Regions from separate parts of the Homo sapiens genome. Here region 2 is linked to region 1. Evidence: promoter capture Hi-C in human tissues and cell types (Jung and others, 2019). All regions are on one chromosome and are shown on one strand. Each heading gives the region's core, a stretch centred on a gene start or on the middle of the fragment in contact. The rest is flanking DNA. Distances are from core to core; before and after follow the strand shown. Region 1 holds the start of KCNJ13 (potassium inwardly rectifying channel subfamily J member 13). Region 2 overlaps GIGYF2 (GRB10 interacting GYF protein 2).

Region 1 (4,611 bases), core at 1,794-4,293:
GGGAAGGCAATTCGTAGTTGGCTTGGACATGTGGAAATGGAAAGAGACTAGGCATCTTCAAAAGAAAGCCAAGTACACTATGTAAGCAAGAACATGGAGACCAGAGCTAACGTTTTAAAGCTGTGAGATTACCTACTTACATAGGCCAGAAATCGCACTCCAACTGAAGATTTTACTGTTCTCAAGAAAAATGTGATACATTTATAGATATATAGTGAATTATTTCAGTCAGAAAGAAAATCAAATGCCTTTAGGGACAGAGGACTAGATTTAATACAGGATAATTAACCAGGTCTTGGTACCTTGTTTAATTTAATCATTATAATTTTGGAGACACAATCCATCAATCTATGAACAGGTATTTACCATTTATGTTCATTCACCGAAGAAATGTTTTAGAGCCATCTCCAATTACCTTACTGTGAAACAGCTACAACAGAAATAACAAATTGTCTAGATGGGAAGGACCATGAGTTTCTGGGTGAAGGTGGCATATCATCTGTGCCAATATCCGTGTCATCTCAGTGAAGGAGCCCCAGGAAACACCACCCCAAAATATACTGCTTTGGTATGCTCATTACTGCAAACTGAGAGAACTTAGGGAACAGCAAGCACAGGGAGGGGCCTTCTCTGATGCCCCCTTATCTCAAAAAATTCCTTTGTCCCCTCCCTAGAATTTCATCAATCAGGGAAGATTAACCTTATCACATAAGAGATTAAAAGGTCTAGTAGCGTTCTTCCTCAAGTTAATTTTCAATACCTGAAAGACTTTATCTCAATAACTAGACAACTTTTGTTCATCATACATTTCCTCCCCTCATTTTCCCACAGCTTGTCAATACCTTCCCCCAGGACCTCCACATCCCTATTCCAATGCTATAAGAACTTCAATCATCTGGTCCTTCCTCAAGTCTCATGTTTTGTGGGACTCTTGTGCATAAGGATGTAAACTGTTTTTCTTCTGTTAAGTCTACCTACTGTTGCTTTATATTATAGACTCAATTATCAAACCTTCAAAAGGAAGAGAGAAGGTCTTCTCTCTCCCCTACACCAGCTAACCTGGTAACTTCAACCAGAAATGACTTTAAATGCTCAGGCTATTGTAATGGGAGAGCTATGCTCCTAAGTGGGCACTTCAGAGCTGGTCTACAATATTCACAGCAGTAGGAATCACTGTTTATAGACCATAGCAAGACTTTCAAATTGTAGAGATCCAGAAATTAGCTTCACTTAAGACATTTCTTTCTTAATTGAAGATCATTTTGCCAAATCATTTTTGTCTCAATATATTGAAACCAAGTATACTATGGAAAAAGACTTTTAAGTTTAATAAAATCCTTAACTGTCTTGCCTACTATAATATGTATTCTCAGGCCAGGTGAAGTGGCTCATGCCTGTAATCCCAGGAATTTGGGAGGCTGAATTGAGAGGACAGCTTGAGCCCAGGAGTTCAAGACCAGCCTAGACAACACAGCAAGACCCTGCCTCTACAAAAAATAAAAAATTAGCCAGATGTGGTGGCATTACTGCAGGGGGTGGGGGATGAGGTGGGAGGATCACTTGAGCCTGGGAGGTCGAGGCTGCAGTGAGCTGTGATCACACCACTGCACTCCAGCCTGGGTGACACAGCAAGACTCTATGTCTAAAAAAAATGAAAATAAAAAATATACAATGTATATTCAAAACACATGACAGATACACTCAAGTGCTTCTGCTTTCTAGAAGCAGTATTATACTATACTTGTTCTAGTATTTTGTTGTTGTGTTGTTCTGTTTTTCTGCAATTTGTTAGCTGGGAATTGATACACATTATAATTCCTACCAGTACATGCAGGGAATGAGCATCACACCACAAATCCTTCTTTATACTTTACCTTCCCTAGTTCTGAAGGTCAGTGTTTCTAATGCTGTGTCTGAACTTGTGTTGAAGTATTTGGTACTAATAAAACAAAGAAGGAATTAATATATTTTTTAAATTGTGGGGCGGGGGGGGGACGGAGAGGATTCTACAAAGGCGGATTTCACTTTCTAAGTAGCATTATATTGGTCTACATTAATAATTTTCCCAGCAGGCCTTCCAAGATTTTACTTTGAACAATCACAGTCTTTGTTTCTCAGATCCTCTTACATGTGACATTTGGTCAAAGTTTTAAAATCAGCAGCTAACGGAGGAGGAGAAAAGTACTGTTCACTAAGGCACTGCACAAAGCCATACCACAGCACGTTTCAGGGTTCCAACAAGCTGGATCACATTTTCCAGCTAAACACTATTTCAATGTTGTGTTACATTTTCTGTACACTGTACACTATGTTTTATTAACACTATACTTCATCACACTGATCAGGAAAACATCTTCTAAACATCATTAAAATAAGCCTTAAGAAAATTCTTCGGTTCTTTCCCACAGGTGTGCATTTTTTAAAGTATCAGGTACAGAACAATTAATTTTATTCCTATTCAAGGTCTTTGTATACAGCCTTTAAAAAAAAAAAGTTTGTTTCCTAACCAAAAAAATAAAAGATTTCACGTAATTATCTATATTACTAGTTCTGGAACTAATGGTAGCCATTCTGATGAGACATGAGAAGAAAACTAAGAAAATCAATGCATTAATTTATGCCTATAAGTCCTTATCCAAATAAATCTTCCCCAAAGACATGGTGGAAAAAAAAAAAGATTAGTAAAGGAAATATCTCACACTTCAACATGCTATATAAGGAAAGACGGCTGAAAAATCTTGCAGGGAATTTTATCCCTTTGAACTTTCAAAAAAACTCTTAAGTAAGATTATGCAAACTTACTAAAGACCGGTCCTGATTAGAGGGAAAAAATGCACCCCTTCTCCAAGTCAGTTCTGGAGGCTTTCTCCAGAGTTGTTAAGGTTTGTGTTGGGTAAAGAAAGACCTCCTAACAAACCAGCATTCTTTTCCACATGATCAGAGCTAATTGGCCCCCCTGCAGGCTAAGTGACCAATCACATCAACCTCAGCTGAAACCAGCCCCCACAACATTATAAACAGAGGAATGTAAGCTGTAAAACCAGTCCAAGAAGAGAACCTACAAACTAGACTTGTAGATTAAAATTATCTGATCAAAAAGGCAGACTCTGTAAATTTCCTTAAGACCTACCTTGGCATAAAGGCTGACCCAGCAAAAGAACTGGTGAGTACATGCAATAATATCCATTCTTCTTTCCTTATGGGAAACAGGGAAAGAAACTGACTGGCAAATAGCAACAGAGCTAGATTACTTCCAACAGATTTTTAAAACAAAGACATTATCTATAGTGTAGGATAGTAAGGTTTCTATATTCTTTTCCCTTAAATCTTAAAAATGCAATAACAGCCATATTGAATGTATTACTGGAAATTTTCTTAACTGTTTTATTAAATGTATACTAATTTTCTATTACAATATATCAGTAGAGGATAAAGGCCTTAGGAAAAAAAATTCAGTGGCTTGAGGAAAAAAAAAGTCTTTTTCTTTTGGAAGGAATTTCAAAAACCCAAAATGAGCATAAAAAAACAAATGCCAAAAGAATAAGCCACTTTGTTTTTACTTCTGTAATCTAAGAAGAAAGTGATGAGTATCCTAATCGTAAATTTTTAAGCATGGAATTATTGCGGAAATTAATAGATACTTCTGCAACTGAGAAATTAAAATAGAATCTCTGAGCTTATATAACAGGGTTAGAACTCAATAGTGTTTGCCCTAATTGTGGAGGGCAGGAGAAATCATTATAAGACTTTCAATATAGTCTTAAAGTATTTACACCAGACATGAACAAATACATAGTAATGCCATCTTCATTTAATGTTTGTTAGTTATAGCCTTTATCTTAACTCCTCAGTATGAACTATACTATTTTTTATCATGGCAACAGAAAATACATACTTTTAAGTGCTACAACCCAATGAGTAGAATGAATTCTGATGATCAGTGAAGCTGCCTATCATTTTTTAATAGGTACTATTTTTCCTCCAAATAATTTATAAATGGGCAAATATTTTACAGCCCACACACAGCAATAGAAGCAAACCTTCCCAACCTTCCACCTCACTTTCTATTGGGATCAGCTGATGAGACTTAAATATCAGGTAACAATAGTATAATTTTTTAAACCATACGAGCAGACATCAAACTATACAGAAATAAAAGAAATCATATAGGAAACTTGTATCCTTTGTAGGAAGTGGAAATATGTTTGTTTACATAAGTCTGTAGAGCTTTAAGAAATCTTATTATCATAATTCCCTCTTTTTTCACTTTCTTTGTTTTAATCTAAGGATGCCAGGCCAATGGGATTGAGTGGTTTGCCCAAAATGACACAGCTATGTAACCAACAGTGCTAGAGCCTGAAGGCCATATCCCCTTATCCTGCGTTCTCTACACTAAACCACACTGACTATAAGAGTCCACAGAATAGTTATTCAGGGTAATTGGTTAAGTGGGAATCAGAAATCAATCTTCCTTCTCTATATTACTCCACTTGCCAACACAATCCAAACCAAATCCAGCAGTCTTAGGTTAAAAAAAAAAAAATGCTGCTTAACTGTTCCGATTATCAGCCTTTTGACTTCCCTGTTCACAGGTTTTTCCATGTATTTAGT
Region 2 (4,159 bases), core at 640-3,139, 43 kb after region 1:
CGGGTGGGACTCCCGCCATCATTACATATATAACCAGACAAAGAAAAAAAATTTTAATTAAGTATAGAATACACTCATTTACCAAATATAATTTATTCCTGAACTAACACATTGTTTTCAGCGAGGCACATAAAGCAAAAGTTTCAAAAACATGCACATTTATAAACCACCTAGCACCTGTCAAATACTTTACTACTGTATTAGTCATCCAATATCAAAGAAGATGAGATTTTGAAAACTCACCATTCAGGCCCAAAGTTCAGTGTCTGCGTTTCCGCTGCCATTCTTTTCCGTATTTTTACAATAGATTTTTATATGTGAAGAAACCTGTTAACGAGAAAAATATCTCCATACTATTAGTTGAGATTAAATGTGGAATTCCAGGCCAGAAAGTACAGTTAGAGAGTGTTTTATTTATGCTCCTCTCAACTAGAGTCACAAAAATGAGATTTTGAAATTCCTACTTAAAACAATAATATAGCAGGCAAAGTGAAATGAATAAATCAACCCTTATATTCTGACTCCCCACCTTTCTATGTTAATCTGGGGTAAGGAGGCACAGTTTAAGATGAAGCTAGTGAGAGAGGTAGGAACAGACCACACAGGGCATTGGAGACTAAGTTAAGGATTTTCTCCCTTTATCCCTGGAACAATGGGGAGTGAATGAAAGGTAATAGATTTACATTTTAGTTCATATTACTTCCTAGTAATGACTCCCCTATCACCATGAGGTACATCAAAGATTATTAAAATAAGGACCCTCCTTACCTATCACATAGCTTCTGCCACAACTCTCCTCACCTTCTGCTTATTAGCACTTTACACCCTAGTGATTTTTTTTTAACAGACAGTGTGTATCACTATGTTGCTCAAGCTGGTCTCGAACTCTTGGCCTGACCTCAAGTGATCTTCCTGTCTCAGCCTCTCGAGCCTACTGCTTCTTTTAAAAATTATCTTGGATCAGGCCAGGAACCACCAGGCAAGGTGGCTCATACCTGTAAATCCAGCGCTTTGGGAGGCCAAGATGGGAGAATCGTTGGAGCCCAGGAGGTGGAGACGTGGTCTCTAAAAAAAAGAAATGTTAAAGATCAACTGGGCATGGTGGTACATGCCTGTAGTCTTAGCTGCCTGGGAGGGTGAGGTGGAGGGATCACTTGAGCCCAGGAGTTTGGGGCTGCAGTGAGTTGTGGTCCTGCCACTGCACTCCAGCCTAGACGATGGAGTGAGACCCTGTCTCTACAAAATAAACAAATAAAAATAAATTTATAATTTGGGAGGCCAAGCCAGGCAGACGGCTTGGGCCCAGGAGTTCAAGACTGGATTGGGCAACATAGTGAGACTCCATCTCTTTAAAAAAAAAAAAAAAAAAAAAGTTTTAAAATAAATAAATAAAATATAAATTTTTTAAAAGTTGCTTCAGATTGTCAAGTTAAAATAATAAACTAATGAATTTCACAAGTGACATTTCAAAAGTAATCTTAAGATATGAGAGCTTAAAAAAATGGAAAATACTATAAAAATTGTAAATATAACTGGCCCTCCATATCCATGGGTTCTGGTTCATGGATTCAACCAACCTCGGATGGAAAAAAATTTTTTAATTGCGTCTGTACCAACATGTATAGACACTTCTTTTCCTTGTCATTGTTCCCTAAACAATACAGCAGAACAACTATTTACACAGCATTTATGTTGTATTAAGCATTATAAGTAATCTAGAGGTGTTAAAGTATATAGAAGTATGTACATAGGTTATACGCAAACACTATGCCATTTTACATTAGGGACTTGAGCATCCAAGGATTTTAACATCTGAAGGACATCCTAGAATGAATCCCCATGGATACTGAGGGACAACTGTATACTGTAAAATATCTCTAAGATACATCACACACGGCACTGGGGACCAAGTTAAGGATTCTCTCCCTTTATCACCCTGTTGCCTCTGTTTAAATGATCTAAAAAATAATAAACTACAAATATGTCTAAAGCTTAGAAACAGCAAAGTAAAAGTGTGTTAACCTTCATAATCAGCTATTCATTTATCTGCCTTCCTTCTGAAAGGTACTTCCAGCCCTGTGTCAACCAAGCAGACTCCAAGGGAGATTATCCTGTTCTTACTTGACCCTGACTCCCTGCTCCCCCACCACACAAAAGGTGCAAACCAGACTAAAACTGAGGTAAACTTAGTCCCCTCCTCATCACTTTTTTTTTTTTTTTTTTTGAGACAAGAGTCTCGCTCTGTCGCCCAGGCTGGAGTACAGTGGCGCGATCACGGCTCACTGTAAGCTCCGCCTCCCGGGTTCACACCATTCTCCTGCCTCAGCCTCCCGAGTAGCTGGGACTACAGGCACGTGCCACCACACCCGGCTAATATTTTTGTATTTTTAGTAGAGACAAGGTTTCACCATGTTAGCCAGGATGGTCTTGATCTCCTGACCTCGTGATCAGCCTGCCTAGGTCTCCCAAAGTGCTGGGATTACAGGCGTGAGCCACTGCGCCCCGCCCCTCCTCATCTCTTAAAACAACTAGTGATTCAAAGAAAACATAACTGCCGAGCATGGTGGCTCATACCTGTAATCCCAGCACTTTGGGAGGCCAAGGTGGGTGGATCGCTTGAGCCCGGAAGTTCAAGACCAGCCTGGGCAACATGGCAAAACCCTGTCTCCACAAAAATATATAAAAATTAGCTGGGCATGATGGTGCGAGCCTGTAGTCCCAGCTGAGGTGGGAGGATCACTTATGCTGTGGAGCTTGAGACTACAATGAGTCGTGATTGCACCACTGCACTCCAGCCTGGGCAACAGAGCAAGACCTTGTCTCAATTAAAAAAAAAAAAAATTAAAAAAATTAAAATAAAAAAGAAAACACTATTTTTAACATTTTAATTTCTCTGAAATTAGAATGCATCTTAAAACTGATGCCAAGTTACAACTGCTACTGGCTGGGTGCGAGTTGTGTTACAGCTGTCTGAACAAGGGCCAATTTTTTAAACCGCTGTTTTAAATGTCTTCAAAATAATATGATTCTGTATCAAAACTAAATTTATTGTATAACAGAAAAGAAGCAAATACAGCCATGGAGTATTAGTGAAGTAACTATTCATCATTCAAAGAATGATTCCAAGTGATTTACAGGACCTCAGAAAGAAAGGGGGGAAAAACACACAAGCCAATGGAGTCTGTTATGGTTTGCTACCGATACTGATGACACTGCACAACCCATATGACCACATGCAGCAGCCCTGAAGTACTAAAAGGGATTAAAAATTAAATAGCTTATATTGCTCTTAAAATCTTCACAAGCATCAAACGACTAAATTTTAAATTGATGACAGAGTAATAGAGAATTCCCTTAACTACTGCATCACCAATACTTTGCATGACTGGTGGGGAGAGGGAGGAAGAAAGCAGGAGACTTCTATGATGCCAAGTTGAAAAGTGATTTAGAAAAGTCAGACTCTAAATACCCAGAAATCTTACGACTATCTTAACAAATTTATTTTACTTCTATTTTCATTTTCATACATGCAATAGAAGGATACACTGTTTAATAAAAATCCATTCTTATTTGCTAAATAAGTTTAACAGAGCTTTTTTAAAAAATATAAAATAATTCTAACAAGAAAAGCCTGTGCCAGATGTGCCGGAGCCTTCTTGGCAGTATTCCTTTCTTTCTCAGTAATGCACAAAATGATTAATCTTATAGTTGACACATGTTAGATTCAATTAAAATTATGGTACATTCCAAATGAATGACTTGTCAAGGTAGCAATGATCAGACCCCAGGAAAGGTGCCCACTGTTAAACTAAAACAGGCATCACTGCTTACACAACAGTCTTATGACTTTTTGTAACATAAATCAATTCAGTGTGTTTTCTAAAAGTATGTGGACCTACTTGGATGACAAACAGAGATGAAGAGACTACATCAACTAGAGCTGTAGAGACCACATCAATTGTAAGGTTTTTCTTTAATACTAAACATCCTGAAGGAGCGGTTTTACCACCATTTTAAGCCCCATCTAGCCAAATGTTTTAAACTCAAACCCGTAGAGGATTTTAGAGCATTGAATAATGGCTCTGCATTTATAAAGCAAGTCAGGATTTAAATCAGACTGAATTTATAAAGCAGGTAAATCTCAACTAAAATTCAAAGT

What was found. The method cuts DNA at HindIII sites, captures the fragments that hold promoters and counts their contacts. A contact is called where the count stands out against the background at its distance.
Region 2: a contact is called between a fragment that was not itself captured here and the fragment with the promoter of KCNJ13 in region 1, in 1 of the 25 tissues and cell types used here (adrenal gland).

What each region holds. Positions count from the first base shown.
Region 1 is chr2:232,774,997-232,779,607 of GRCh38, reverse strand. It overlaps KCNJ13 (potassium inwardly rectifying channel subfamily J member 13), which reads left to right and starts at 3,043. Exons shown (of 3, transcript NM_002242.4): 1 at 3,043-3,163. The region is part of intron 8 of GIGYF2 (GRB10 interacting GYF protein 2); the gene reads right to left. The HindIII fragment of the contact is 9,389 bases long and covers 1-4,611 here.
Region 2 is chr2:232,731,323-232,735,481 of GRCh38, reverse strand. GIGYF2 (GRB10 interacting GYF protein 2) reads right to left here. Exons shown (of 29, transcript NM_001103146.3): 3 at 244-327. The coding sequence starts at 284. Among named protein-coding and RNA genes, the nearest start is that of GIGYF2, 36 kb to the right of the region's middle. The HindIII fragment of the contact is 4,206 bases long and covers 1-3,992 here.